2 separate regions of the Homo sapiens genome follow, and region 2 is linked to region 1. Evidence: promoter capture Hi-C in human tissues and cell types (Jung and others, 2019). All regions are on one chromosome and are shown on one strand. Each heading gives the region's core, a stretch centred on a gene start or on the middle of the fragment in contact. The rest is flanking DNA. Distances are from core to core; before and after follow the strand shown.

Region 1 (7,443 bases), core at 3,028-5,527:
GAAGAGGACATAAGTGATTTTTACTGCCCACTCACCTCTTTTCTTAAAAAAGTGCTGCCATGAATATGTTTTTGTTTTTTTTTTTCCTTTTCATTTTTTTTTTTTTTTTTTTTTCTTGGAGACGGAGTCTTGCTCTGTCGTCCAGGCTGGAGTGCAGTGGCATGATCTCGGCTCACTGCAACCTCCGCCTCCTGAGTTTAAGCGATTCTTGTGCCTCAGCCACCCGAGTAGCTGGGACTGCAGGCTCCTGCCACCACGCCTGGCTGATTTTTGTATTTTTAGTAGAGACGGGGTTTCACCGTGTTAGCCAGGATGGTCTTGAACTCCTGACCTCAAGTGATCCACCCACCTCAGCCTCCTAAAGTGCTAGGATTACAGACGCGAACCACAGCGCCTGGCCATGAGTACTTTTTTATTACTCTAAATGAAAAATGGAACTGAGATCTGCCAATGAGAACAATTAATAGCTATAGTTTGCAACCTTTATGCTAACCATTCCCTGGGTATTAGAGGTGCAGTGAGGTAATGTTAGCAGAAGGATGTTGCATAAAGTCAAGGACACATTTTCAGAGAATGTGGGTCTCAGACCAAGGCTAAGGGCAGTGAGTTTTGTAAATAAAGGCAAAACCTCTAGAGTAACTGATGATTTCATGTTTAATGAAATGTATGTCCTAATTCGGTGATGAACTCAGGTTAGGTATGTTTGGTATGAGGATGAAACTTTGTAGTGCGTAGATCTGTTGCTTAATCTAATATCAAGCTTAATATTTTCATGGATTTGTAGGTCCCAAGAAAATTTAAGCTATAAAGTTCTATATGTTATTTCTCATGAGGAATATATTTTGCACTTTTAAAAACTAGTCCATTCAGCCTCTATTTACAAAGAAAAGTAGATTAGTGTTTCCAAAGCCTAGCTGACCACTGGAAATGCCAAGTAAGCTTTCCCAAAAGACATTCTAATTAATTACCCTTGGAGTATTTGCCTTAAAATCTGTGTTGTAAAATCTTCCCAGATGATTCTGATGACAAGTAAGTTTGGTAAATACAGCTACACATTCAAATACTAACTTGGATGTTCTCCATGGGACACCTAGCACAGTGCTTGGCACAAAGTAGACAATATTAATTGAACAAGTAAAAGAATGAAAAATGGAAGCTGCTGATAAAGGTTCAGGACTATCCTATTTCAAGGTCATTAACTCTACTTACCTTTTTTAGAGCTTCATGAAGTTCATTTAGGACACAAATCAAGAATTCCTGAGCATCTTGTTGCATCTTTTTCGTAAATGCTGGGTAGAGGTTGCCAAGAGCTGACCAGAATATTTCTGGTGAGACACAGTCTGAGTCTCCCAGCCACATGTCTGTCATCAGATAGGCAAAAGCAGTGGCAACTTCACTGCAATCGCTTGGAAGAAGAAAGGGATATGTTTCTGGCTGATTTAATGAAAAGAAGGCACCTAATCACCCAAGCCTAGGAAATTAGTCTCAAAATGGAAGAACGTGGTGTCTCATGCCTGTAACCCCAGCACTTTGGGAGGCCAATGCAGGAGGATAGCTTGAGCCCCCAGAAGGTCGAGGCTGCAGTGAGCTGTGATCATACCACTACTTCACCCCAGCTTGGGTGACAGAACAAGACTGTCTAAAAGAAAAAAAAGGATGCCAGGCTCAGTGGCTCACACCTGTAATGCCAGCACTTTGGGGGGCCGAGGTGGTAGGTTGGGAGGGGTGGATCACTTGAGGCCAGGAGCTCAAGACCAGCCTGGCCAACATGGTGAAACCCCGTCTCTACTAAAAATACAAAAAATTACAAAAATACAAAAAAAATTAGCCAGGCATGGTGGCGCGTGCCTGTAATCCCAGCTACTCAGGAGGCTGAGGCAGGAGGGTCACTTGAACCCGAGGAACAGAGGTTGCAGGGAGCCAAGATCGCACCACTGCACTCCAGCCTGGGCAACAGAACGAGACCCTGGCTCAACAACAACAATAAAAAAAAATAAAAAATAAAAAAAAAAGGAGCTGCATTCATTTCTTGGTTGCCCTTCCCACTTTTACTTACTCTAGCGTGTTATCTGGGAAGCTACAACCTCTACTGACTTGTTTGTTTATCTCTTAATAGGGATTCCAGAGTTCCTTCTCTAACCTCATCTGTGGGGAAGTGGGGGTGGGGGCTGGGCTGCAGGGAATGCAAATGGTCTTACTTTTGCAGAGCGGTGATATACTTCCCGGTGAGAAAGTATTCCACCAGCGGCAAGATGCTGCAGAGACACTGTGAGATGGCATTCACGCAGCATGTGTTGCCCAAGTTCCACAAGCCAGTGACACCCTGAAAATGGGGCTGGTTCCCATCAGCCTCCTTAACTGGAAGGGTATCATAGTAATCTGTGCACTCTGCACTGTGTTGGTGCCACATGGGAAGAAAGGGTTTTGAGAGAACAAAATATGTACAAATGACAATAAGCTTCTCTTAATATTATGAAATAAAGAAGAGTTCTTAATAAGACTTCCTCCAAACACATTCCCTACCAAGGACAGGAAGTATTGGAACTTGGAGTCTAAAATTGTATTATGGCAGAGCATAGTGGCTCACACCTGTAATCCCAGCCCTTTGGGAGGCCGAGGTGGGAGGATTGCTTGAGGCCAGGAGTTTGAGACCAGCCAGGGTAACATAGTGAGATCTTGTCTCTATTACATAAATAAATTAAATTAAAAACAAAATTACATAACTTAGACCAGAACTGTGAACAAGTACCTGAAGCCAAATAAGACAGATAAAAATTTCCTTCTAAAACTAAAGCAAGACAACTGACAACTTGCTGGGCAAGTAATTAAATTATTATTATTATTATTAATAGTTAATAAAACAATAGCTATCAGGTAGTGAGCCTGGCACTATTTAAGTACTTAACATGCATTTTCCCATTAAATCTTTCAACAATTGTGTAAGGCAGGAACGATTATTTTTACATCCCATTTTACAGATGAGATGTCAGGTTTAAATGATGTAGTCATTTACTCATGGGGTGTGTGGTGGTATGTAAAAAAAGGAATATCCACCTATCTGTTTACCTCCCTCCCTCTCTCCCAACATACCTATCCATTAAGATATTTGGATTTACATATATTAAGATTGTCTATATATATTAAGATTGTCTCTATATATGTGATATATATGTATATATTTGTATATATATGTATGTATGGCATATATATTGAAGGCATAATATATGCACATTAAGAGCATGAATATATATATCTTAAGAGCACACATATGTGTATATGTGTATGTATATAGCTATATACATATAAACACACACACACACATATACACGGAGAGGAGAAAGAGCACAGACTTTGTAAAAATATAGATCTTAGTTTAAATCCCAACTATGCCGTTTATTAATTATAGGATCTGGGATTCTATGTCCGTTTCTCATCTATAAAATAGGAATAATATCATCTGCCTGATAGGATGGTTGTGAGGATTATGCAGGTATCATGCAAGCTACTTGACACAGGTTCGTCTAAATGACAACTGAAAAATTTTTTTAAGTGATTGATCTAGGATGTCCTTCCCAGTAAGCTACAGGATTAGAGTGTTCATGTGAATTGCCCAGACCTGCCTGCACAGAGAGAACACTGAGGGTTCCAAACGGGACCTCCTCTCCCTGCACAGAGCTTCCTCTTACAATTTTTTGTATTGTGCCAGGCAGCCTGGTATCTATGTCCTCTCGGATTTTTCTTTCCATATATTGTATCTAAAGTTGGGGCTCCATGAGACAGTGACCTTACCTCATACATACTTTTAAGTACAGTTATGCCAGTTTGAAAAGTGTTCACTGTTATAAGCATGGTCATTTTCACTTTTACTCACTGATACCACAGGAGGTCCTAGACTGTCACCCTTTAGGAAGGACATGTATTTATTGCCAAGATATTAGGTACAATCTTCCTTCCTTTCCGGGGACCTTCCATGGGTCACACCTGGGAGAACCCTCCTGAATGCAGTGTGTGTCCCCTGACTCCTCTGAGCTTGACTTTCCCACCACTGGGCTAATCTAGAAAGCTGTAGTAGATCAAGGCTCACAGGACGTGGTAGATATCGAAGTCATCTGCAGGGAGAGACGGCTGAGAAGTCATTTTAATGGAACCACGTTGGACTTTTGCTTCTATTCAGGAGCTACATCTATTCCTTTCAACTTCATTTCTCTGAGCCTGTTAACGCTGGCTTTTTGTTTTAAACAATTGATATGCTCCTCTCTCTTCCAGTAGCTGCGAACTGATTTTCACCTGTATCAGGCACCACTCCAACTTGGATTTTCCGTACATCATAATCCTTTCCATTCACCTTCAAGATTCTATCATGTTGCCATGAGACACTGTTACTGGGTTGTCTGAAATGTTTTAGAAAGATTAGGCTCCAGAGAATGAACTACACATATAACCTCTCTTCCTTCTTCCATCACTCAGTTTCTCTTGTGTATATATATATTACACATACACACACACACACTTAACATGTGCACAAAAATTTACCGCCACTGAGTTAGTGGACACTACGGCAACCCTGCCTGCTCTGGGCACTCATTCCCCCTTCCCAGCGACTACACCACACCTAGGAGCCCTGAGGGAATTTCCTCACCCCGGGGAGCGAGGATTTCCACTTCTATTCAGGAGCTAGATCTATCCGGACTGAATACCGGATCAGAAAAAAAAAATTGCCATAAAAGAACATTATGGGAACGATTGATGAAATTTGAATATGGATAATATGCAGATAGTTTTTTCTATTAATGTTGAATCTTCTGAATTTGATAAGATTGTACTGTGTTTATGCAAGGGGATGCCCTTGTTCTTAGAAAATACACACTGAAGTTTTTCGGGGCACAGGGGCATGATATATGCAACCTATTTTCAAACGGTTCAGGAAGCACACAGGGACAGGAGGACAGGAAGGAAGGGGACTGATAAAGCACATACTATAAAGCCAGTGCACCCACACGCCAGCAGTTGGTGATTCCGAGTGAAGGCCCACTAAAGAGCACTATTCTTGCAACTCTTCTGCAAGTTTAAAAAATTAAAAAGAGGCCGGGCGCATCGGCTCACGCCTGTAATCCCAGCACTTTGGGAGGCTGAGGCGGGAGGATCACGAGGTCAGGAGACAGAGACCATCCTGGCTAACACGGTGAAACCCCATCTCTACTAAAAATACAATTAACTGGGCGTGGTGGCGGGCGCCTGTAGTCCCAGCTACTCGGGAAACTGAGGCAGAAGAATGACGTGAACCCGGGAGGCGGAGCTTGCCGTGAGCCGAGATCGCGCCACTGCACTCCAGCCTGGGCAACAAAGCGAAGACTCGGTCTCAAAAAAAGAAAAAAAAAATTAAAAAGAAAGAATATATTACACATATTTTTTGCTAAAATGGATTTCTCTCCAGATATATGACTGGTAAGTCAAAAAAAGCAAGGTGTTGAGGAATCCATAGTATGCACCCCAACTTATGTCTAAATGGTTAAAAAAAACCCACATATATGCTCAGGCTACACGAAGATATTTAGAATATTCATTCTTTGACACCTGGATAAGGAATCCTGGCAAGTAGAGCTGTCCTCTCTTGCAGGTATTTGATATTTGCGATGTATTTACAGAGGTATCTCTCCAAGTCACCTCAGTGGTGGTTCTGCAGGACTTAAATCCTGTAAACTTGCTCTATTTGTCAGTGAGGCTCTCCCAAGTCCTTCATTTTCTCCTAATCAATAGGGTCTTTTAAAAGTTTCATTTTGTGTTTGATGCTGGTAGGTAAAAATACAATTATTTGTCATATGTTGGTTGTCTATCCAGGAACCTTTCTAACCTGACTTACTCTTTAATTTTTTAATTTTTATTTAAATAGAGACAGGGTCTCGCTATGTTGCCCAGGCTGGTCTCGAACTCATGGGCTCAAGCAATCCTCCCACCTCACCCTCCCAAAGTGCTAGGATTACAGATGTGAGCCCCTGAGTATGGCCTAACTTGACTTACTTAAGTCTAATTTTTACATAGGTTCTTTGGATTTTTTATAAACACATTCAAGTTGTCTGCAACAAAATCAGTTTAATTTTTTTCTGAGTCTTACTTCTTCTTTACTAGTGAGGACTGCCAGTAAAATAGTGAAAATAGTGAAAAATTGTGAACATAGTAAAATAGTGAATAGAAGTGGAGATAGCTAATTGCTTAACTCAGAGAGAAAGCTTTGGATAATTCACCATTAAGTATGATGTTTGCAGACATAGTATTGAAGAGTTGTAATCATGAATGGATAGTGAGTATGACCAGATTTCTCTGTATTTATTGAGGTAATCATGAGATTTTCTTTCTTATTCTGTTATTGTTGTTCATTATCAATGATGGTCACATATTAATCTTCTATTCCTCAGGTATATTTTGTTTGAGCTGTAGTTATTATTTTCGTGAATTGTTGGGTTCTAGTTGTTAATCTTTTTGTTCAAGGGTTTTGTATCTATGTTCATGAGTTAGATTATCTATGTGTTAATATTCTGTGCTCTATAACAAACTACTAAGCTTAGTTTAAAACCAGACATGGGGCTGGGTGTGGTGGCTCATGCCTGTAATCCCAGCACTTGGGGAGGCCGAGGTAGGAGAATCGCTTGAGTCCAGGAATTCAAGACCAGTTTGGGCAACACAGTGAGAATATCCCCCACCCCCACCCCCATTCCCCCCCACCCCACTCTCCACCCTCCGTCTACCAAAAAAAATAATAATAATAATTAGCCGGGCATGGTGGTGTATGACTGTAGTTCCAGCTACTCAGGAAGCCAAGGTGGAAGGATCACTTGAGCCCAGGACGTCATGCTTGCAGTGAGCTGTGATTGTGCCATTGCACTCCAGCCTGGGTGACAGAGACCCTGTCTCAAAAAGAACCCCAAAAGCCAGGAGTGGTGGCTTACACTTGCAATCCCAGCGTTTTGGGAGGCTGAGGCGGGTAGATCACTTGAGGCCAGGAGTTAGAGACCAGCCTGGCCAACATGGCGAAACCCTGTCTCTACTAAAAATACAAAAAGAATAGCTGGGCATGGTGGCACGGGCCTGTAATCCTAGCTACTCTGGAATCTGAGGCACGAGAATCCCTTGAACCTGGGAGGCGGAAATTGCAGTGAGTCAAGATCATGCCACTGCCCTCTAGCCTGGGCAATAGAACAAGACTGTCTCAAAACAAAACAAAACAAAACTCAAAAAGGAAAACCAGATATAGTTTAGCTGGGATCTCACATTGCATTTAGTTTTCATGTCCCTTTTAGGCTCCTTCAACCTGAAACGGTTCTATGTATTTCCTTGATTTTCATGAACTTGACTTTTGAAGATTACTGACCAATTATTGTGAAGAATATCCCTTAATTTCTATTCAGGAGCTACATCTATCCGGACTGAATCCCAGATCAGAAAAAA
Region 2 (7,379 bases), core at 1,784-4,283, 230 kb after region 1:
AGGCTTAATGGCTCACGCCTGTAATCCCAGCACTTTGGGAGGCCGAGGTGGGCAGATCACTTGAGGTCAGGAGTTCGCGACCAGCTTGGCCAACATGGCAAAACCCCATCTCTCCTAAAAATACAAAAATTGGCCGGGCGCGGTGGTGTGGGCCTGTGGGCCCAGCTACTCAGGAGGCTGAGGCAGGAGAATCGTTTGAACCCAGGAGGTGGAGGTTACAGTGAGCTGAGATCATGCCACTGCACTACAGCCTGAGTGACAGAGTGAGAATCCCTCTTAAAAAAAAAAAAAAAAAGAGATAACAAATTGTAAGCTAGAGTTACATTGTTCTTGGTGTTGAGGTATACCAAAGGCTGCTATTGTCTGTATAAATCAGTGTTGCTGCAAGGAACAGTAGTTGACTTTAGATATTGCTGGAAAAAGCAAAACCCAATCCATATCCAAAGTTTTCTGGCATAGTGGATTGATTCACATATTAATCAAATCCTCCTCTGACTCCAGGTAAATTAATTTATATGATTTTCTTGGTTGGGCACTACAGTATTAACTATTGACATATTGAGACTACTCTGGGCTTTTTAAACCAAAGTTGTTTATTACTATTATTATTATTTGAAACAGAGTCTCGCTCTGTCACCAGGCTGGAGTGCAGTGACACCATCTTAGCTCACTGCAACCTCTGCCTCCTTGGCTCAAGCAATCTTCCTGCCTCACCCTCCCCAGTAGCTGAGACTATAGGTGCACACCACCACGCCCAGCTAATTTTTGTATTTCTTTGTAGAGACGGGGTTTCACCATGTTCGAGGCTGGTCTCAAACTCCAGGTTTCAAGCAATCTGCTCACCTTGGCCTCTCCAAGTGTTGGGATTACAGGTGTGAGCCACTGTGCCCAGCCTGAAGTTGTTTATTTATAGGAGCCTCCAGATTAATAAACTATCACCCAAAGCAAGTAAATGCAGTCAGATCTTTTTGATGCACAAGGATAATTTTAGACTTCTAAGATGCCATTTGTTACACAGCAGTATACTTTCCACATGACTTTTCTGGCTCTATTTTACTATGATTCTATGAAATATGCCTGCTCAGCAGAAAACAGATTCAGGATTTTTGACTAATAGTGCAATTCCACTAATAGCCACTGCTATTATGTGCAGAAGGAATAAGAAATATTGTGTGCAGGAGGAATGAGGAATAAACCAATTCTGCCTCCCCATGACACCAGCCAGGCACGGTGGCTCATGCCTGTAATCCCAGTACTTTGGGAGGCTGAGGGAGGCGGATCACCTGAGGTTGGGAGTTCGAGACCAGCCTGGCCAACATGGTGAAACCCGTCTCTACTAAAAATACAGAAATCAGCTGGGTGCAGTGGCGCGCACCTGTAGTCCCAGCTACTCAGGAGGCTAAGGCAGGGGAATTGCTTGAACCCGGGAGGTGGAGGTTGCAGTGAGATGAGATCTTGCCACTGCACTCCAGCCTGGGCAACAGAGCAAGACTCCATCTCAAAAATGAAAAAATAAATAAATATAAATTAGCATCTTAAATCAGTATTTGTCAGTTGTGTGTGTGTGTGTGTGTGTGTGTGTGTTATTTTGTTTTGTTTGTTTGTTTTTTTAATGTGGAGTCTCACTGTTGTCGCCCAGGCTGGAGTGCAGTTGTGTGATCTTGGCTCATTGCAACCTCCACCTCCTGGGTTCAAGTGATTCTCCTGCCTCAGCCTCCCAAGTAGTTGGGATTACAAGCACCTGCCACCACGCCTGGATAATTTTTGTATTTTAGTAGAGACGGGGTTTCGCCATGTTAGCCAGGCTGGTCTCGAACTCCTGACCTCAGGTGATTCACCAACCTTGGCCTCCCAGAGTGCTGGGATTACAGGCGTGAGCCACGGAGCCTGGACTTTAAGTCAGTATTTAAATATTAATACCAAGTATCCAATTTGGCAGGAATGTTACATTCATAACAATGTGTAGCCTGACCCCCATGAGTTTTTTGCTGAAAATACAAACTATATAATTATATTTTCTCTTTAAGAAGTCTTGACATTATTAGACACCTCCCCTGGTTTTTCTTGTTTTTCATTAACTTATACTTGGCATTCTGTGTCAGGTGTACATGCCAGAGATCACGATGATAGGGCCATGTGATATTGCTGGCCTAGTCTAGGCATTAGTGTGCAACCCCATCAGCAAGTACAGCCGGTCATTTGCAGTCACCTGGATCAGCTGAGATGGGAACATCAGTTTAAATGAAAGTGTATTTAGAGAGGTGACCCGCTGTCACGAGATAAAGACCGAAGGCCATGAGTTTAAAATTCAGTAACAAAAGGGTGGAGCTCTGGAAACTGGGAGGAGTGAGAGAAGTATTTTACAACTTATGAACATAAATGGGCACTATATATCCTTTTAAAAAAAATATAATTAATTTTCTTGAGGCATGGTCTGACTCTGTTGCCCAAACTGGAATGCAGTAGCGCAATCCCAGCTCATTGCAATGTCCATCTCCCAGGCTCCAGTAATCCTCCCACCTCAGTCTCCCAAAGTGCTAGGATTACAAGAGTGAGCCACCATGCCTGGTCAAAAGAGCACTCAGTATATATTCTTTTTTTTTTTTTTTTTTTTTTTTTGAGACAGAGTCTTGCTCTGTTGCCCAGGCTAGAGTGCAGTGGTGCAATCTCGGCTCACAGCAATCTCTGCCTCCCAGGTTCAAGCGATTTTCCTGCCTCAGCCTCCTGAGTAGCTGGGATTACAGGTATGGGCCACCACGTTTAATTTGGTATTTTTAGTAGAGAAAAGGTTTTACCATGTTGGCCAGGCTGGTCTTGAACTCCTGACCGCAAGTCATACGCCCACCTCGGCCTCCGAAAGTGCTAGGATTACAGGTGTGAGCCACTGTGTCTGGCCCTATATATTCTTTAAATTTACCTTTTTTCTTGAAGTATAATATAAAGACAGGAAAGTGTACATATTGCAAGTGTAGACTTTGATGAGCTTTCACAAACTCAACACATCTGTGTGACCAGCATCCTTTCAAGAAACTGAGCATTTCTATCTACTCAGAAGTCCCTCTACTGTTCTCTTCTAGCTGGCTTTTGCTCCCAAGAATAACTGTTTTCTGACTTCAATCACACATATTAGTTTTGTCTCTTCTCAGATTTTGTTCAGCTCTATGTTCAGTAACTTTTTGTTGGTAGCTTGAAACTGGCCGTAGTGGAAGTATTTACGCCACAGAAATCGGCAAATCAGGGTGTTGCCCCCATCCCTGAGCTAGATGTTAAACATTTATGAGCACACCACCGAGTACAGAAGTAAATAAAACTAACAAAAATCCTTGCCTTCATAGAGCTCACATTCTAGATGGGGAGAAAGACAAAATAAGTAACTGAATTATGTTAGAAGTATATTAGAAAAGGCTGGGCATGGTAGCTCACACCTGTAATCCCAACACTTTGGGAAGTCGAGGTAGGAGGATTGCTTGAGCCCAGGAGTTTGTGACCAGCCTGGGCAACATAGGAAGACTCCATCTCTACAGAAAATAAAAAAAACTAGCTGGGCATGGTGACACATGCCTGTAGTCCCAGCTACTCAGGAGGATGAAATGGGAAGATCGCTTGAGCCCGGGAGGTTGAGGCTGCCTTGGGCCATGGTTGTGCCACTGCACTCCAGTCTGTCTCAAAAACAAGAAAAGAAAGAAAAAGTATATTAGGAGAGGAAAAACACTAAAGAGAAAAGTTAAGTTGAGTAACTTCTTTTTTAAAAAGAAGTAAGGAGTCTGGGTGGTGGTAAGCATTACAATTCTAAATAGGGTGGTCAGGAAAGGCCTCACTGAGAACATAATATTTGAACATTAATTGAAAGGAAGGGGAGGAACAAGCCGTGAGTATAGGTAAGAGAAGAGTAGTTTAGGCAGAGAAAACAGCAAATGCAGAGACCCTGAGGCAAGAATGATGCAAGGGGGCCACTAGAACTGGGGCTACATGAGTAAGGGTAGATAGCGCAGGAGCTGAAATCCTAGAGGTAATGAGTGAAGGTAGTGAGGGGTGGAAGACCAGATTATGAAAGGCCTAGAAGGCCATTGTGAAGACTTGAGATTTTTTTTTTTTGAGACGGAGTCTCACTTTGTCACCCAGGCTGGAATGCAATGGCATAGTCTCGGCTCACCGCAACCTCCACTTCCTGGTTCAAGCAATTATCCCACCTCAGCCTCCTGAGTAGCTGGAACTACAGGCACGGGCCACCACACCCAGCTAATTTTTGTATTTTTAGTAGAGACAGGGTTTCACTATGTTGGCCAGGCTGGTCTCGAACTCCTGACCTTGTGATCCGCCTGCCTTAGCCTCCCAAAGTGCTGGGATTACAAACGTGAGCCACTGCACCTGGCCGAATTGAGATAATTTAATAGGGGAAAGTATAGTTTTTTATACAGCTAAAATATTAAGTTATCAAATGTTGTCAGATTCCTTGCTGAATTCAAAGGTGACTTTTGGATTGCTTTCTTTTCTTTCCCTTTTTTTTTTTTTTTTTTTTTTTTTTTTTGGAGACGGTGTTTCATTCTTGTTTCTCAGACCGGAGTGCAATGGTGCAATCTCGGCTCACTGCAACCTCCACCTCCCGGATTCAAGCGATTCTTCTGCCTCAGCCTGCCAAATAGCTGGGATTACAGGTGTCCGCCACCACACCCAGCTAATTTTGTATTTTTTTGGAGAGACAGGGTTTTACCATATTGGTCAGGCTGGTCTTGAACTCCTGACCTCAGGTGATCCGCCTTCCTTGGCCTCCCAAAGTGCTGGGATTACAGGCGTGAGCCACTGCGCCTGGCCTGGATTGCTTCCTTTAGGCTGGATTAGCCTCTAGACTTGTGTTGTTCAATAAGGTAGCCAGTACTCACATGTGGGTATTTGAATTTAAACTTATCAAAACAAAATGAGAATTCAGTTCCTCTGTTGTACTAGTCACATTTCAAGTATTCAATAGCCACACTTGGCTAATAGCTACCATGTCAGGCAGCACAGATACTGAACATGTCCATCACTGCAGAATGTCCTATTGGACGTGGCTACTCTAGAGAGCAAACCTTGCTGGGGTGGACTATAGTGGTTTTTAGCCTTTTTACAGATGTTGCATTTGCCCTAGCAGATCTTTTGGCAAGAACACCTTGGTACAGGAATCCTGGAGCCATTTGATTTCTGCTCAGATTGTAAGTTTCTATTTCAGGACCTTATATCTAAAAGTAGCTTTATATAAAACCTGTAATCTTCTCCAGAGACATCCTCTAGTATTCATTTATATATTCATAAAAAGAGAGTGATCACTGGCTATTACCTTGCTTGTATAACCTGTTGTGAAAAGCAAGGATGGCATTGATGCAAATTACTGGTCAAAGATGGCCCAAATTATAGCCTAGAGACTTTAATTTATTCATTTATTTATTTTGTGGCTGTTTTTAATGCATGCATTCAGGTTAAGATGTGATTAAATCAGAGATGTAAATTGCTCTGAGATATAAATTGCTCAGAGTTAAGAAGTGCAAAAAAAAAAATCCCATAATCTTTTTTGTGAGAAAGGATGCTTTTTAGCATGAATTCAGGGTTATTCACCCCATCCTTTCCTCAGTGCTCCCACTCTGGGTGTGGTATGGGACTGTTAAAACTCTGGCCAGGGACTTTTCTCTAGTTGGTGAAATGAAGGAAAAGCACTCACTCAACTTCATTAAAAAGGCAGTTATCCTGTGAGCTTCTAAACTGGCTTATGTAGAACAGAATGATCCATGAGCAGCTGGGAGCTCACTCTCTATATTCTGATATGAGATGGGATCTTTGGGGGAACATGTGTTTCATGGGCATAGGTAAGCACAGATCCTTTGAGCTAAGGAGGCCTGGCTGACACCTGTGGTTGCATGCGGATACTTCTCTGAGTTGGGGTCGGTCTTATCTTTTTCCTCCTCCCTCAGCCAAAAATAGCTCAGAGATCTCCAGACTGGCAGCAGAGTCGCTCCCAACTTGCCCTCTGAGAAGACTCTGAAAAGTTTGTTCATGTTAAAATATAAATGATTGGCTAGGAAGAAGGGTAGCTCATGCCTGTAATCTCAGCAGTTTAGGAGGCTGAAGCAGAAGGATCACCTGAACTCAGGAGGTCAAGACCAACCTGGATAACACAGTGAGACCTTGTCTCTAAAAAAAAAAAGAGAAAGAAAGAAAGTAGCCTGCTGTGGTGGCTCATGCATGTATTCCCAGCTACTAGGCAGGCTGAAGCGGGAGGATGGCTTGAGCTCAGGCGATGAAAAGTACAGTGAGTTGTGATCGTGCCAATGCACTCCAGCCTGGGCGACACAGCAAGACCCTGTCTCAAATTATATATATATATATATATATATATATAGGTTTAGTGGTTACTTCTTCCAGGAAACTGAGCCAACTGCCTTGTTGACTTAAGTCAAAGGAATAAAGCTGGTTGGGTGCGGTGGCTCATGCCTGTAATCCCAGAACTTTGGGAGGCCAAGGCGGGTGGATCACCTGAGGTCAGGAGTTGGAGATCAGCCTGGCCAACATGGTGAAACCCTGTTTCTATTAAAAAAATACAAAAATTCACTGGGCGCGATGGCAGGCACCTGTAATCCCAGCTACTCGGGAGGCTAAGGCAGGAGAATCGCTTGAACCCAGGAGGCGGAGGTTGCAGTTGAGCTGAGATCGCGCCACCTGCACTCCAAGAGCGAAATTCCATCTCAAAAAAAAAAAAAAAGGAATAAAGCCTGTGGAATTTCAGACATCAGCTAAGCATCTCTAGTGCTCCTGAACTAGTACCACATTCACAGTTAGGGGAATGTACCTCCATTTTGCCTGGGACAGTCCTGGTTTATACCTATTACCCTTGCGTATTTATTAACAGTGCTCCCTTTCACTCTCAAAATGTCTGGATAATAAATTAAACAGTCACCTTATTTTATAGCTCTTTCTCTGCCCAAAGCCTAATTAGACTAATAGGTACAAGACAGAATATTTTCAAAATTACTTCCTGGAGTCAGCTTCCTCTAATCGTCTCTATGCCTTTTTCTCCTTTTTCAATTTTCGTTCTCAAATTGGAAAGCACCAGGAGACAAATGACAGTGCCTGCAATCTTGTTTTTTTTGAGCAGTTGTTTAAATAATGTAATACATCTTGGTTCTTGAATAAAATCCTAAAGAAGCACATCTTTCCTAGGTTACTCCTTATCAATTTAGTAATTCTTTTTTCAAACACTTCTTTCTGTTTGTCTAGAAAAACTTGCTTCCTTAGAGAACGCCTTTTATTGAATTATTTCTGGCAATTTGATTGGATTGATTCAATTTTTTATTTCTACAACTACAGTGACTTGGTCCACAGATTTTAGTCTGGTAGGCATATAATTAGAA

Evidence for each region. The method cuts DNA at HindIII sites, captures the fragments that hold promoters and counts their contacts. A contact is called where the count stands out against the background at its distance.
Region 2: a contact is called between a fragment that was not itself captured here and the fragment with the promoter of USP50 in region 1, in 1 of the 25 tissues and cell types used here (H1 embryonic stem cells).

What each region holds. Positions count from the first base shown.
Region 1 is chr15:50,542,389-50,549,831 of GRCh38, forward strand. It overlaps USP50 (ubiquitin specific peptidase 50), which reads right to left and starts at 4,278. Exons shown (of 7, transcript NM_203494.5): 1 at 4,085-4,278; 2 at 2,199-2,393; 3 at 1,210-1,405. The coding sequence starts at 4,137. The HindIII fragment of the contact is 4,694 bases long and covers 1,699-6,392 here.
Region 2 is chr15:50,776,131-50,783,509 of GRCh38, forward strand. No RefSeq gene overlaps it. Among named protein-coding and RNA genes, the nearest start is that of SPPL2A, 14 kb to the left of the region's middle. The HindIII fragment of the contact is 8,950 bases long and covers 1-7,379 here.